Linked DNA regions of Homo sapiens: regions 1, 3, 4 and 5 are each linked to region 2. The links are contacts of gene promoters, found by promoter capture Hi-C in blood cells and fetal thymus (Javierre and others, 2016). All regions are on one chromosome and are shown on one strand. Each heading gives the region's core, a stretch centred on a gene start or on the middle of the fragment in contact. The rest is flanking DNA. Distances are from core to core; before and after follow the strand shown. Region 1 overlaps FHIP1B (FHF complex subunit HOOK interacting protein 1B). Region 2 holds the start of RHOG (ras homolog family member G). Region 3 holds the start of TAF10 (TATA-box binding protein associated factor 10). Region 4 overlaps APBB1 (amyloid beta precursor protein binding family B member 1). Region 5 overlaps DCHS1 (dachsous cadherin-related 1).

Region 1 (2,700 bases), core at 132-2,631, 2.4 Mb after region 2:
ACAGGTCAGTAAAATTCTGTGGTGTCTCTCTCCTTACAGTGGCTCTTCCTAGGCAAGAAGACTAATTACTGACATAAGGAGGATGAATGGGCTGTTACCCTAAATACTGGAAGTTGAATGACCTGATTAAAATCTCATAGAAATACAAAGGGAAAAACCAACCAACCAAAAACACCACCTACTAGGAATTTATACTAGAGCTCAGCTTACACATTTCTTCCCTGCTTTTCCATCCCTCAGACAAATGGGATGTCAGGGTATGGTCCCAACTCATTCCCTTCCCTCCCCGCAATATCACTTCTGCTTCTTGCAGGGATCTCCTCATCTGACTCCAGCGGGGTCCATCCAATTCACAAAAGTGAACCTCTATTCTACAGTGACTCCTCTTTACAGCAATGAATCCTCATGTCACACACAGTTATCTCTACCTTGACAGAGATGTCAAAAAGGAGGTGAAACTGAACTAGATCCTAAAGGATAAGGAAAGTTCACTGGGCAGAGAAGAAAAGGCATTCCTAGTAGAGGAAGCAGCTATTACAAAGATTTCAAGGCTCAAAAAAGCAGCATGGTTTTAGGGAACTGTGAACAATTTATTCAAACTAGAATACAGACTAGGGAGTGGCACACGAGACTGGAGAGGTAAGCTGAAGCTAAATGATGCCATATTAAGAAATTTGGATGTTGTCCTACAGGACACAAAGAGCCAAAAGTTTTTAAGCCAAGGAGTTCGGAGATCAGATGTGTATTTTCAGAAAAATCATTCTAGGGATGGACCAGAAAATAGCAAGTTTTAAGACAAAAAATTGTTTTAAAAAAATCATATGAGGTGAGGGGGAGCTAAACTAAAGCTTTGACAGTGAAGATGTAGCAATGGAGATATAGAGAAGAGAGATAACACAGAGCGAAATGTATTAAGATTCTAGCAAATGATTGAATGCAGGGAGTAAAAGAGCAGAAAGTATGAAAGATGACAATGTAGTCCTTGCCTGGAGTGAGATAGGGGATATGAGGGCAAAGTCGGGCTTTTGGGGCAAAGACTATGAATTCTGTTTTGGACATGTTAATTTTGAGATACTTGTGGAGATACACAGATCAATAAACATGTATACTTGGAATACAGGGAAAGATGACACTAGATACAAAGGAGTAATCAACTCATTATGATATATTTTCTTTTTTTTTTTTTTTTTTTTCTTGAGGTGGGGCCTCTGTCACCCAGGCTGAAGTGCAGTGGTGTGACCTCATCTCACTGCAACCTCTGCCTCCCAGGCTCAAGCAATCCTCCCACCTCAGCCTCCGGAGTAGCCAGGACCACAAGTATGTGCAACCACACCTGGCTAATTTTTGGTGGGTTTTTTTGGTGGTGGTTTTATTGTCGTTGTTGTTGTTGTTTTGGTAGAGGCAGGGTTTCAAAATGTTGCCCAGGTTGGTCTCAAACTCCTGAAGTCAAGCGATCTGCCTGCCTCAGCCTCCCAAAATGCTAGGCGTGAGCCACTACGCCCAGCCTATTATGATATATTTTCACATTTCACATTATCTCTCTAAATTGAAATTATGTTTTCATGTGTCTCTCTCTCCCTACTAGACTGAAAATCCCTTGAGAGCTCGGATGACCATGTTTTATTCATGTTGTTATCCCATAAAATGTGAGCATCACAAGCACAGACTATATGTTGAAGAAGTATTTGTTGAATGAATAAACGAATTCATTCTCCTAGCACTTAGTAGAGTGCCTGGCACAGAGCAGATATGGAATAAATGATTAACACAGTACCCTAAACATGTTTCTATCTCTACATCATCATCCTCATGTATGTTTCATCCTCTCAGAACTACCACTCACTATATGATACAAATCAAAATCCATTATACTTAATGCACTACTATTTCAACAGAGTTTGGGATAGCAAACAATAAGCTTACCAAATCCAGTGCTTTCTCCATTATAACAAGGATTTAGACAGTCCCTAAGAACCATCTAATATTTGATTTGATTCATCCTATCACTATCATGATATGATCCACTATCAAGATGTGATCCAGGTATTATATATACCTGTTCCAATGTCACTGCGACAGCATTAAACATAACCTTCATCCCTATGTCACTCTCACAGTCCCTTTTCTGTCTTTTGGAAATAGAACAATTACAAATCATTAAAAAATCCTCCCACATCACCTTCAGTGTCTATTATAAATCTTCTTTCCCAAAGTCTCTCTCACTCTGAGACAAAATTCTGGGTTCAGCCTTGCCACTGTATCCCTGTATGATCTCTGGCTACTGAATTTAATTTCTCATCTATAAAATGAAAGTTCCTGTCTTTGTCTACAAGGTATCTATATAAATCAGTATAATAAAATTTGAAATCCCTATGTAAAGCATGAATGCTGTTCAGATGTTAAGTTATACAGAATCATTGTATAAATGTATGCTTCCTCAACCTAATACAACAGCCACACCATCATCACTTTAAATTTCTGAAGTTCATAAAGCTATAGAAATAATTTTTAAAATTAAAAATTGGGTTGACACTTTTTATTTGGGTAAATTAGATCTTTTTTTTTTTAACCCACCATCTACTGTTACCATTACTGCATCAACGAAAGAGCACTGCAACACCAAAAGAATAGGAATGATAATCTCTGAGAATAAATTTATCTTCATGAATAACCATACTGTCTTTCTCTCCCTCCATCTTG
Region 2 (2,700 bases), core at 186-2,685:
AGGCTTTCCATCTCTTTAATCCATCTCTAAGAGATGAAGATGTAGATACACAGACACGCGCGTGCGAACACACACGCAAACACACACACACACACACACACACACAGGCTTTCCAGCTCTTTAATCCGTCTCTATCACTGGGAGGCTGCAGACTGCCTCTCCAAGCTAGGGAGGTTTGAAAAGACTCTAGAACTCACTAAGTCTTCAACAACTGATTCCAAAGCTGGAGATAAGTGGGTGGGAGGGAAGGATACAGAGAGGGTGACAGGCTGAGGGTTCAAAAGGAATGAGGGGTGATGGAAGAAACCAGGAGGTGCATGTGTGTGGGTGCCAGAGCTGGGAAGGGAAGGGATGGGGCAGGTTGCAGAGGACCAAGACGAACATGGGGCAGGGTAGGTGAAGACAGGTCAAGGCCTAGGTATGACCGTATGTTTGGAGGAAAAGAGACTGGAAGGGATGAGAAGAGAGTGATGGCGGATTTGTGGGTAGAAACTAAAGAAGGTGTGGAGGGAGACGACAGGAGCATGTGTATAATTCAGGGACTAAGAATGAAGAGGAACACTAGGAGATGGTTCTCAATTGTCCCCAAAAGACACAACAAAAACTTGTCAGGGACTATCAGTACCTCTGAATGAGAGTCCTTCCACTTCCAGTTACAGGGCAAGACCAAGTTACTCCCAAAAGAGCAAGGCCAGGCTCTGGTCAGCTAGGAACAGCGTCTGCTCACTAAATACCTACTGCTTGGCTCCAGGTAAGGTCGGGACTCAGGAAAACAGACATACAGACAACGACTGGGGTCGGCGGGGCTCCCCCACCCAACCCGGGTCCTCCTGAGTGCAGAGGGCCTTGGGGCTGCAGACCGAGTGTGGGTCTGTATTAGCATCCATCTGACAGGGAGAGAGCTTTCGGAGGCCCCAGACACCGCCCCTCTCACCCCAAGTGTCACAACTGCCAGAGCAGAGGGAGCGCCTTTTCCAGCCCAGAAGCCCTCTCCCCTCACGCACTTCTCAACACCCCCCCCACCAACTTCTGAGGACACCCCACCTGCGTCCGATCTCCCAGCTCTGAGCTCTTCCACTTCAGAGACACTTATCTTGGAGCCCGGGACCCTCCGACCTCAGGGGTCCCTCTCGGCTCCCTAGAGGCGGTACAGCCGCCGGGAAGCCACCCTCGCCGAGCCTCCGCCGGCTCGCAGTGGCCCCGTTCCCGCCCCGCCCGGCCGGCCGCGCCCGCCCTACTTGGACTGAACCGAGAAGCTCCCGCCCGCGGCCTCCGCCAGCAAACTCATGAGCCGGCGCCCGCGCCGAGTCCTGGGCCGGCCGGGCTCTCCTCCCCCGGACCCCTACCCGCCAGCCCCGGCCGGGCCTCACCTGGTGCCCTCCCCGAGGCGGGGGAGCTGGGGGCGGCGGCAGCGGCTCCGGGCTCGAGAAGGAAGTGAGAGCGGGAGGCCGGAGGAAGTGGGGGGGGCGGGCCGGCGAGGCGGGGCGGGCCGGGGCGGGGCCCGACCAGGAAGTCCGAGGGCCGATCTCCCCCTCTCCAGCCCCGGCCCGCCCCCAGCCTCGCCCCCGGCCCAGTCCCGGGCTTGCCACGTTCCCCTCCCAGTCCGCTGCCCCTGCGGTCAGTAAGTCAGGCCTCCCAAGGTCAAGTCTCTCCGCCTCCTCCTGGCCACCCTACCCCTGGAGGCCCTACCCTGGGCGCTAGGCGTTCGTCCTCTTCCCCCCATCCCGCCCCCACCAGCCTCCGCGGGAAGATGCTGAGAAAGGCGCCCCTGGGCCTGGTCCCTTCAGTCAACCCCAGGGATAGAGTGGTGGCCGAGGCTGGGGCAGTCCCCGCCCCTGCCCTGAGCCCCGGGGGAGTGCGAGGTGGTGGTGATTCAGCAGTGGGAAGGCCCCAGACCCCTGGGGAGGGTGGGGAGACTCGGGGGGAAGAGGAGCTGGCGTCAGCACCCAAGGGAAAGACAAGATCAGCAGAGGCGCAGGCGGAGCCGCGGGCCCCAAAAACAGGATGTCGAGTCGTCATTCAGCACCGTGCAGCCCTGCGAGGCCTGGCTCTGGGGAGGGGGCGGGGCGGACGGAGGACTTGGGGCTTCCCTCGCCCCCTCGCCCCCTGTTCTGCTGGGGCGCGCAGCTGCTTGGGGCTGAAGAGCCGCACCCAGGCCTGAGGTCCAGCTTGGGCCCCGGCGACCCGCGGGTGGGCGGGCTCATGGGCGCCCTCTGGTGCTTCGCTCCCTGGCTTTGCGCTCGGAGCTTTGACTTGAGAATCCATATCCTTCGTTCAGCACAAAGTTTCTGAGCGCCTACCACGTGGAGAGAGCTAAGTGCTAGGTGCTGTGAAGAAACACAGCGTTTAAGACAGGATCCCTGTCTTCCAGAAGCTTTTCAAATAAACGGATTGATTCCAGGAATAAATAGCTTAACCTTTCTGAGCCTCAAATCTGTCTTTGGTAAAATAGAATAATTATATTTCACCCCGTAGTTTTGAAGATAACATGAGAATGGGTGTAAAAGACCTGTTGTCAATGCGTATCTCAAACACTAAACAAATATCTTTTAAAAATATCATACCCTAAGAGTCTGGCGCGGTGGCGTCTGCCTGTAATTACAGAGATGGTGAAACCTTGTCTCTATAAACACAAACACACACATATTTTTTGACAGTCTCACGATGTCACCCAGGCTGGGGTGCAGTGGCACGATCTCG
Region 3 (2,700 bases), core at 23-2,522, 2.8 Mb after region 2:
TTCACATTGATGCCATACTCGCTGAGGGCAGGGGTCAAGTCCTCCATGGTTAGAGTGTACTTGCGGTCCTGAGGGAAGAGGGAAGAGCACCAACTGAGCACAGGAATCCCGGACTTCAATCCCAGATGGGTGACCCTGAGTAAGTCTTACACCTCCCCTACGATTCAGTTTCCCCAAAGGGGTGGCAGGATAAGCCTCCACTGTTGTGGAAGGTAATTACTGATTCATTAAGCCTCCCCTCACACCTTGCTCTTGCTCCGGGAGCTGCCGGAGGCCGTGCCCTTCATTTTGCAGTGCTGTAGGGCATCATTGGCAATATCTGAGATGAATTTCTGGGCAGCTAAGGAGATGAGCCGAATTCTAGAGAGAAAAAACTTAGATGAGAAGGAGATGGACAACATACTGCACAAGCACCCAAAACTAACCTGCCCTGGGTTTACTCACATGCGTGGGTCTGAGGCCTCAAAGCCAGCACGGTTCAGGTAGTAACCAGTCACTGCATCTGGGATCTGAGAAATCAATTAAGAGAACTGTCAGCAGAGCGGGAGGAGGGTGAGGGAAATGGATAGGCCTGATTATCAGGAAGCTCACAGTTTGGGTGAGCAGAGGGCAAACACAGAAGAGCGACTAGGGGAGCAAATGGAAGAGAACGCTGAAAAGCACGATGTGGCTGAAAGTTTTGACAGCAGGCTAGGTGGCCTTGTTCGGGCGGAAGCCCACCGTAGGCGTGTAATCTTCCAGCTGCATCAAGAAGTCCACCAAAGGCGTGCTGGACACCACGGGCTTCACGTCTCCGTTGGCCGCGCTCGGCAGTACGTAAACCCCGTTAGATATGGCCCCCTCCGGGGGCGCCGCGCCACCCGCCGACACCGGAGCTGGAGGAGAACCAGCAAAATGAGACACAGAGGTGGGAGGCGCAGGGCCCCAGCTAGGTCTGTCTATACCCTCTGCCCTCACCCGCCGCTGGACCCAGCCCAAGACGCTTCCCTCGCCCTCACCCGTCCCGGCCCTCACCCGCCCCACGCCGCTCAGCTGGCTCCCCGGCCCGCGCCGCCAAGGGTCCCGTGCCCCCAGCAGCTGCTCCAGCCCCAGGTCCCCCCGCTGTCCCCGCGGGGCTGGCCTTGTTCTCCGCGGCGGTGCTGGAGGGCAGCGCGGCGGGAGCCGAGACCGGGGGCGCGGGGCCCGGGGCCGAGGCGGCGGAGGCCGGCGCCGCCTCGGGGTCCGCGCCGGAGCCGCTGCAGCTCATCGGGCCGGTGGGAGAGGCGGCGAACAGAGCCGCTTCCGCTTCCGCTCGCGCCGCGCACACCCCGGGGTGACGTCACGCGCCCACGACTCGCCCCGCCTGTCTCTGTTAGTGCTCTCCAGCCCGCTCCCCGCCTCCTCCCATAGTGGATCTGCGGGTTAGAGGAAATAGGCTGCAGGGCGGAGACCGAGCCTTGGCGAACTGCGCTGCCGTAGCCATTCCGCCCTAGCCTCTGCCGTGCTCCGCGGCGATTCCGTCCAGACCGGAACCAGCGTGCGTCTGGCTCTCCTCCGCCGCTCTGGGACACCTCATTCTGTCTGACGCTCAAGACCTGGCTTCGACGTTTATGGCCCTATGTCCCTCGACTACGGGTTGCCTGCCTGTCTGCATCGTTTCAAGTTCCCTTATTCAGCCTTTTAAGGATTCATAGTGGATTTGGAAAGCCCCCTCTCTTCTCCGCCAGCTGCCCCGAGAGGTGGGGGCAGCAGTGGGGCGGCACACAGTGCTGCTGTAGGAGGAGGAGGAGTTTCAGCCTGAGTCAACAACATATGCAAAAATCACAACGAATGAGAGGCGTGAGGTTTTCGGTGTAGCAGACATTTAATTCTTATTTGCCAACTCCTGAGCTAGGACCTGGGAACACAAAGTTAAATAGGACACGATTCTAGTCCTCTAGGCACCAACGGTCTTGGAAAGGAAGGCAGACAAGTAAACTGGCCATTTCAATACTACGTGGTCGTTACAATGCTAGAGGTAGGCACAGGGGGCGCAGTGCAAGGGAGGAAGGGCGTTAACATCTGCCACCTACTTCCAGGTGCCAAGCACTGTTATCAACATTATTCCACTTTATTCCCTGGTGATTATGAAAGGCAGGTATTGATATTCACACTTAACAGACGAGGAAACAGCCTCAGGGAGATAAGCTTACTTGACCCAGTCTCTCTCCTAGTCCATATCAGAACCAAGATTCAAACAGGTTTTGTTTAGAAAATCTAGGATTTTTCAGCCATACCAAAATAAAGTAGCCTCAGGGAATCAAAACATTCACGAAAGAAGGTGACTTCTGAACTGAGTCTTGCAAGAATTCTGGAAATTAACCTGGCAGTTGTATCAGGGGTGGTAAGGGGACGGAACAGCTTGAGCAAGAGTGAGAGTTCCTTGGGGTTTGGGGAGGGAGGAGGAAAAATGATTTTTTACTTAAGAACAAATAGCAAGGAAGGTTTGTGAGCTATGATTGGGGGCTGGAGGGGAAAGCCTGAATTCTATCCAGTAATCCTTGAAGGGTTTTCATCCAAGTGGCCTGATGGGATTTGCATTTTACTCTGGAAGATGACTTGGGGATTGGCAGGAAGTAAGGACACTTTTTTTCAAGAGAATATAGCCCTAAACTAAGGTAGTAGCAGTGGGGATATAAGTGGATAAGTTCTAGATATACTTGGGAAATATAATTGGAAGGA
Region 4 (2,700 bases), core at 106-2,605, 2.6 Mb after region 2:
CCCCAGCTAGTACAAAAAAGCACCTGAACTAAGACTACAAGGGCCCCCAACCTGGCTGTTGGGCTGGTTGATTTAAAAACTGAAGTGCCTCCAGCTCAGACACAGGGCTCTGTGCTGAGACTGGAAGAACTCCTAACTCAGGACCTGGGGAACTGCGCTGAGACCCCTCAGAGCACAACATTAGGGGCTGTCTGACAAATAAGAGGGCCCCAGACTCAGAATGGGTGTCAGTCTTGAACAAACCTTGATCCCTGGGTTGGTATTCCGTGGGGGAAGCTTCTCCTCCTCTTGGGGCAACGGCTCTGGGCTGAAGGCAGATGGTAATACTTGGCACAGGGCTCCCATAAATGGAGCTGTCCCAAGGCCCCTTCCAGACAGATCCATCCCACTGCCAGCTCACTGCATCTGGCAGCTCACCTGAGGCTCTGAGCTGGGAAGGTCAACGTCCCCTCCTCAGGTTCCTTCAGTCCCAGCTCCATTGGGGCCTCATCACTGGGTTCATCCTTGGGAAGGGGATTGAGGAATCAGTATCAAAATGATGCCCCTCCTCCAGCTATCCCGTGGTAAAGCAGGTCCCCTTACCCACCTTCCAAAATTCTCCATCCTCAAAGCCTTCTCCATGAGCAAAACCTGTCCAGGTGAGCTAGGAGGAGGGATGGGAGTAGTGAGTGAGTGTCCTATCCTACTCCAGCAGCACACACTCCCTCCACCCCTGGCCCAAAATCAACAGGCCTGTGAGCCTCACCTGGGACTCCTCTTGGGGGCTGCTCCCCTGTGAGGGGGAGGCCCGGCCGGGGGGTTCCCACTGGGTGGTCCCTGTTGGGATGTGCCAGTAATAGGTCCCTGAGGTGTCCTGGACCCTCATCCATCCAGCCGGCAGGTCGGAATCCGTCTCGAAGGCGTTGGGGTTCCAGAAGGAATCTGCCAGGTGGGAGGCTTGGTGAGGGTCAGCCTACCCAAAGAGCAGACAGCTGGTGCCTATGCCCGGTCCCCTCTGAGACCCCATGGTTGAGAAGGGGTGGTGGAAGAGCTATACCACAACACAGTTCCTGCTTCTGCCTAGAGCCTATAGTCTGGAGTCACCACATGTGGGGCCACCAGTAGGGGACATGGCTCAGGTCTCCTCCTGGGCCCTGTTGGTGGCTAATGTGGCCACACTGTGGAAAGGAGGAAGGCAGGGAGGGAAGAAGGAAGGGAGCAATGAATGTTGGGTGACCCCAATTAACCTCCTTTCATACATATCTATTATCTCAGTTAACACGAAGGTGAACACTTTCTAGCTCCTGCACACGTACATGTATACACAGACACACAACACATACAAGCCCTACCACACACCTGTGCAGCCACAAACACCAGGGTATGCAACACAGAAAATGCCAGCACAGATGGCAGGTATCACACACAGGTGCACATGTATGTGCAGGGGCACACACACACAAACTTTAGCCATACACTTATGCAGACACCACAGAGGTGTGTGTGCATGCAGCTAAACATACGAGCCCCTGCCACACAGGTGTGCAGATACCACACCACAATGGCCCCAACACACGTGTGGGTACCACACACACAGGCGGACCCACACTCAGACACACGGCACACGTCAAACCCTGCCAAATGTGTGCAGACACCACAGACGCTCACTTCCTGACCCTTGCTGCACACAGATGCAAGCAAACATGTCATGCACATACACACATACCTCGCATCTGTGTCATACACCCTTGTCTGCCGGCAGAGCCACACCACTCCAACCCTGTAACCCGCTCATGCGTCCTCTAACTCTTCTCTCCCTGTCAGCCCCACCCCACATGAGGCCCAACCTCATGCTGCCCCTCACCTGCGCTGCTGTCCTGCAGGATAATGGCCAGGAAAAAGTCCTGGGAGAACATGGCGCTCATTCCCGGCCCCTCCTGCCTCCACCCTCCCTCCTCACAGCCCCTCCAGCCCAGCCAGCTGGGCTCACAGCCTGGTGCTGGGCTGCAGAGAAAAGCTCATCCCGCCCCCTTCTCACCAGGGCAGAGCGTCTGCCAGGCAAGATCCTCCCCCGCTTGGAGCTTGCTAGGGAGGGGCCAGGACCACCATGCTAGGGAATCTCCTTGGGGGGTGGGGAAGGGAGGAGAAAGGGAGGTTCATGAGACCCCAGCCCCTTCTGCTCACACCTCTTCTTCCTCGCCCTGGCTCCCCTCCCCCAATCCTGAATCTCCATCCCACCCTCCAGTGGTTACCTCAGTGCCTAAGCCAAGCCCAGTCTTAGGGATACCAGGAGACTCAGCCCCTAAGGAATACCCCAGCTGCCTGGGGCCCTGCAGAGCCTATAGCTGTCAGCATAAATAGGGTGTGGTTTCAAGGCCTTCAGGGATCCCGCCCCTGTCCAGGACCTGCACAGCAGTTTGAACCCAAGGGTGGGCTTTGAGGTCCTGAGCCCCAGCAAGCTTGAGGCTGGGCTTGGGGCTTCCCAGCACCACCCCCCACCCCTCACCTGCCAGGGCCCAGCTAGGCTGCAGCGTCTCCTCGGCAACCGCAGCACCAGGACCGGCTGGGAGCGCCCAGACTGCTGACGTGCTTCCCGTTACCAGGGAAACCAGGAATCCTGACTGGTCCAAGAGGCAGTACTAAGGGACAGGCAGTCCCAAGACCCTGCTGCTGGGCAACCAGACACAGCAGGGCTGGGAGTGGGCGTGGTTACGCCAAGGT
Region 5 (2,700 bases), core at 169-2,668, 2.8 Mb after region 2:
TATCCAGTAGCTTAGAAAGAGAAAAAAATAACAAGGACACTGCAGCATACTAAGTGAGCAGAGAAGGGCTTGGAAGTTCCAGGTGGACCTCCTGGAGGAGGTGCCCTTTCACCAGGAGACACAGGGAAATGGAAGCCCCTCCCAAGTGGCAGTGGTTGAAAGTGGCCTGGTGTCAGAAGGTTACCTAGGGAAGATGGATACAGGAGCTGAAGGAAGGGGGGTCAGCAGGAAGCTGGGAAGAAGCTAGGAGACAATAGCATGAACCCCTGGGAGGGGCTTTTCCTAGCAGATACCAGGGCATCAGAGAAGAGAGAGTCCAGTCTTGCCTCTGTTACCACTGACAGGCAGGAGAGGGAAGAAGAAAAGAGTACAAGAATCAAGGAACCTAATATGGGGAGGACTGAGGCCAGGATGCCAGGAGTTGGAGGGCTCAGGGTGGGTGAGTCCGTGGGCTAAGAGGGCATTAAAGGAAGGAGCAGCCTAGGACACCTCTGGGGAAAGAATCTGGTGAGGCACTGTAATGCCTTGTAGTCTGGCACAGCTTCTGCTTCTTCCATCCCTTCCCAGAGCCCCAGTAGACACCTGGCTCAATGGATTTGGGTCTGCAAACTTCTGGTACTTCTTAAATATTTGCTAACTGAATGAAAGATAAAGTACAGATAAGGGAGAGGAAGAGGATCGAGGGAGACGAAGGAAGAATAAATTGTAGGTGAGGGGAGTGGAAGTGTCTCCAGCAGAGTAAGTGAGTAGTGTGAAAATTTCTTAATTATGTGGGCAGCTGAGACTAGGTGTCAGTCTTCTGAAGAGTGAACGAGGGTGAGGGATGTGCTGTGAGGTACCCATGTATTCATTCATTTTGTTCACAGCCAAGCACCTGTGTGGGACCCTGAGTCACAAAGATGAGTAATACGCACTCTTGCCATCAAGGAGGTCCCAGCGCGGTTTGGGGAGATAAGACAGGGAAGAGGCAATGACAACAACGAAACACAGAGTTCAAGCCTGCCCGGTGGAGTCATTAAAGGCAGGGTTTGAGACCAGATATGAGGAAGGGAAGGGATAAGCCAGGAGGGAAGGGAGTGAAGGGCCTTTCAGGCAGGCAGAGCAGTATGTGCAAAGGGTCAGAAGCATGGAAAAAGGTAGTGTCTTTGGTGAACTACAGGAAATTCAGTATGGCTGAAACTCAAAACGTGAGGGGGCTGGGGAAATGGGGCAGGTGATGAGACTGGGAGGCTTGGGGAGGTCAGACTATGATCTCATAACCTTTGTTAAAAAGAAAAGATTTTGTTCAAGGAAAATGGAAGGCATTTGAATAATGCTGAGCAGGGAGTGACATAGTTGGATTTGTACTTTAGGAAGGTGTCTGTTACTCCAATGAAAAGAATGGATTGAAAGAAGGAAGAGAAGTGTAGAAAGAAAAGTTAGGAGGCTCTTGCAAAAATTCATGTGAAAAGATGGTAGATGAGGGCAACAGCAGAGGTGATGGAGAAAAGGGGATGGGATATCAGAGATTGCTGGAGAGAAGATAGAACCAACACGTTCCAAGGGATTTCTGGATTATGGGATACGTGGAGAAGGGAATGGTGACAGTTAATTTCTGGGATTCCAGCTTGCAACCTGAGTGGGGATGGTCATTTGGGGAAGGAAGGAATGATGAGATCAGGTTTGCACATGATAAGGGGTCGGTGAGCTATACAGTAAAGAGCAGGCATGCAGCAGGTATGCAGAAATGTGGCCTAGAAGAGAGATGTCTGTGAGTCATCAGCCTATAGATGTTAATAAAAGCCTTGAAAAATGAATGAAATTGATTACCTAGAGGTGTGTATACAGTGAGACAATAAGAAGGTCCAAGCCAGAACTTTAAGGAACAGTGACATTCAGGGGGCATACAAAGGATCCCTCAAAGCAGACTGAGAGAACAGCTAGGAGGAGCTCCAGAAGAGATACATACCATAATGTAACTTTCCACTTATTTGCCTGTTAAATGTTGATAGAATAAAATCATGGCTCAGAAGCCAAACAACAAAAACAACTCAAGGAGAAAAGAATGGTCAATAATGTCAGCTCCTCCCGAGAGGTCAGGCAGTTAAGGACTTTTGAAAAGATCCTCCAGATTGAGCAGAAGAGATGTTACTTTCTCCTAGGGAAAGCAGTTACATTTGAGGGGCAGGCACAAATGGGAAGTGAGGAAGTAGGAACAGCTATATGCAGAAGACTCTTTCACAAAATGTGACAGTGAAGAAAAGTGAGGAAGCCTCTTAGTTAACGGGGTATTACAGGGTTAAAGAAAGATAGGAGAGGCTGGAGGATCTTTATGTCCTCCCAGGAGGAATGGGAGAAAGGAAGGAACTGGAGACGTGGGAAACACATGGAATAATCAGTTGAGTGAGGTCCCTGTGGAAGAGGAAGGGGATGGGATCCGTAACACAGGTAGAGGATTGGCCTTAAGTAGAAGAGACAGCACTTCGTTCTTATAGGAAGGAAGGAGAAAAGATTGAAGAGGATGCAGATAAAATTTGAGGGAGGAGGCAGAAATCTGAGGGAATTCAAAACAGATGGCCTCAATTTCCTCAGTGAGCCAGAAGACCAGGTTGTCCACTCTTAATTCCTTCCTTTCCTTCACCCCACCATGTCTGCTTTGTCACTGAGCCCTGCTGATCCCACTGCCTAAAGAGCTCTTGAAACCATCCACTTTCTCCTTCT

What was found. The method cuts DNA at HindIII sites, captures the fragments that hold promoters and counts their contacts. A CHiCAGO score of 5 or more calls a contact.
Region 1: a contact is called between a fragment that was not itself captured here and the fragment with the promoter of RHOG in region 2, in 1 of 17 cell types (M0 macrophages). The highest score is 7.4, in M0 macrophages.
Region 3: the fragment with the promoter of TAF10 here is called in contact with the fragment with the promoter of RHOG in region 2 in 1 of 17 cell types (activated CD4 T cells); the score reaches 5.5 in activated CD4 T cells.
Region 4: a fragment that was not itself captured here is called in contact with the fragment with the promoter of RHOG in region 2 in 2 of 17 cell types (non-activated CD4 T cells and naive CD4 T cells); the score reaches 5.9 in non-activated CD4 T cells.
Region 5: a fragment that was not itself captured here is called in contact with the fragment with the promoter of RHOG in region 2 in 1 of 17 cell types (M0 macrophages); the score reaches 8.0 in M0 macrophages.

The regions. Positions count from the first base shown.
Region 1 is chr11:6,230,297-6,232,996 of GRCh38, forward strand. All of the region lies in intron 1 of FHIP1B (FHF complex subunit HOOK interacting protein 1B), which reads right to left. Among named protein-coding and RNA genes, the nearest start is that of FHIP1B, 3.0 kb to the right of the region's middle. The HindIII fragment of the contact is 1,070 bases long and covers 847-1,916 here.
Region 2 is chr11:3,839,524-3,842,223 of GRCh38, forward strand. RHOG (ras homolog family member G) reads right to left here and starts at 1,436. Exons shown (of 2, transcript NM_001665.4): 1 at 1,371-1,436. RefSeq lists silencers at 1,177-1,566, 1,617-1,666, 2,017-2,286, 2,327-2,376. The HindIII fragment of the contact is 3,094 bases long and covers 1-2,372 here.
Region 3 is chr11:6,610,944-6,613,643 of GRCh38, forward strand. It overlaps TAF10 (TATA-box binding protein associated factor 10), which reads right to left and starts at 1,273. Exons shown (of 5, transcript NM_006284.4): 1 at 1,015-1,273; 2 at 721-875; 3 at 445-509; 4 at 246-360; 5 at 1-68. The coding sequence starts at 1,246. TPP1 (tripeptidyl peptidase 1) reads right to left here. Exons shown (of 13, transcript NM_000391.4): 13 at 1,825-2,700. RefSeq lists enhancers at 1-476, 477-1,064, 1,520-1,649, 1,700-1,749 and silencers at 920-1,119, 1,130-1,229. The HindIII fragment of the contact is 6,165 bases long and covers 1-2,164 here.
Region 4 is chr11:6,402,902-6,405,601 of GRCh38, forward strand. It overlaps APBB1 (amyloid beta precursor protein binding family B member 1), which reads right to left. Exons shown (of 15, transcript NM_001164.5): 3 at 746-921; 4 at 587-643; 5 at 418-503; 6 at 244-307. Among named protein-coding and RNA genes, the nearest start is that of SMPD1, 14 kb to the left of the region's middle. RefSeq lists a silencer at 2,418-2,700. The HindIII fragment of the contact is 2,162 bases long and covers 275-2,436 here.
Region 5 is chr11:6,650,200-6,652,899 of GRCh38, forward strand. The region is part of intron 1 of DCHS1 (dachsous cadherin-related 1); the gene reads right to left. Among named protein-coding and RNA genes, the nearest start is that of DCHS1, 4.3 kb to the right of the region's middle. The HindIII fragment of the contact is 2,855 bases long and covers 1-2,700 here.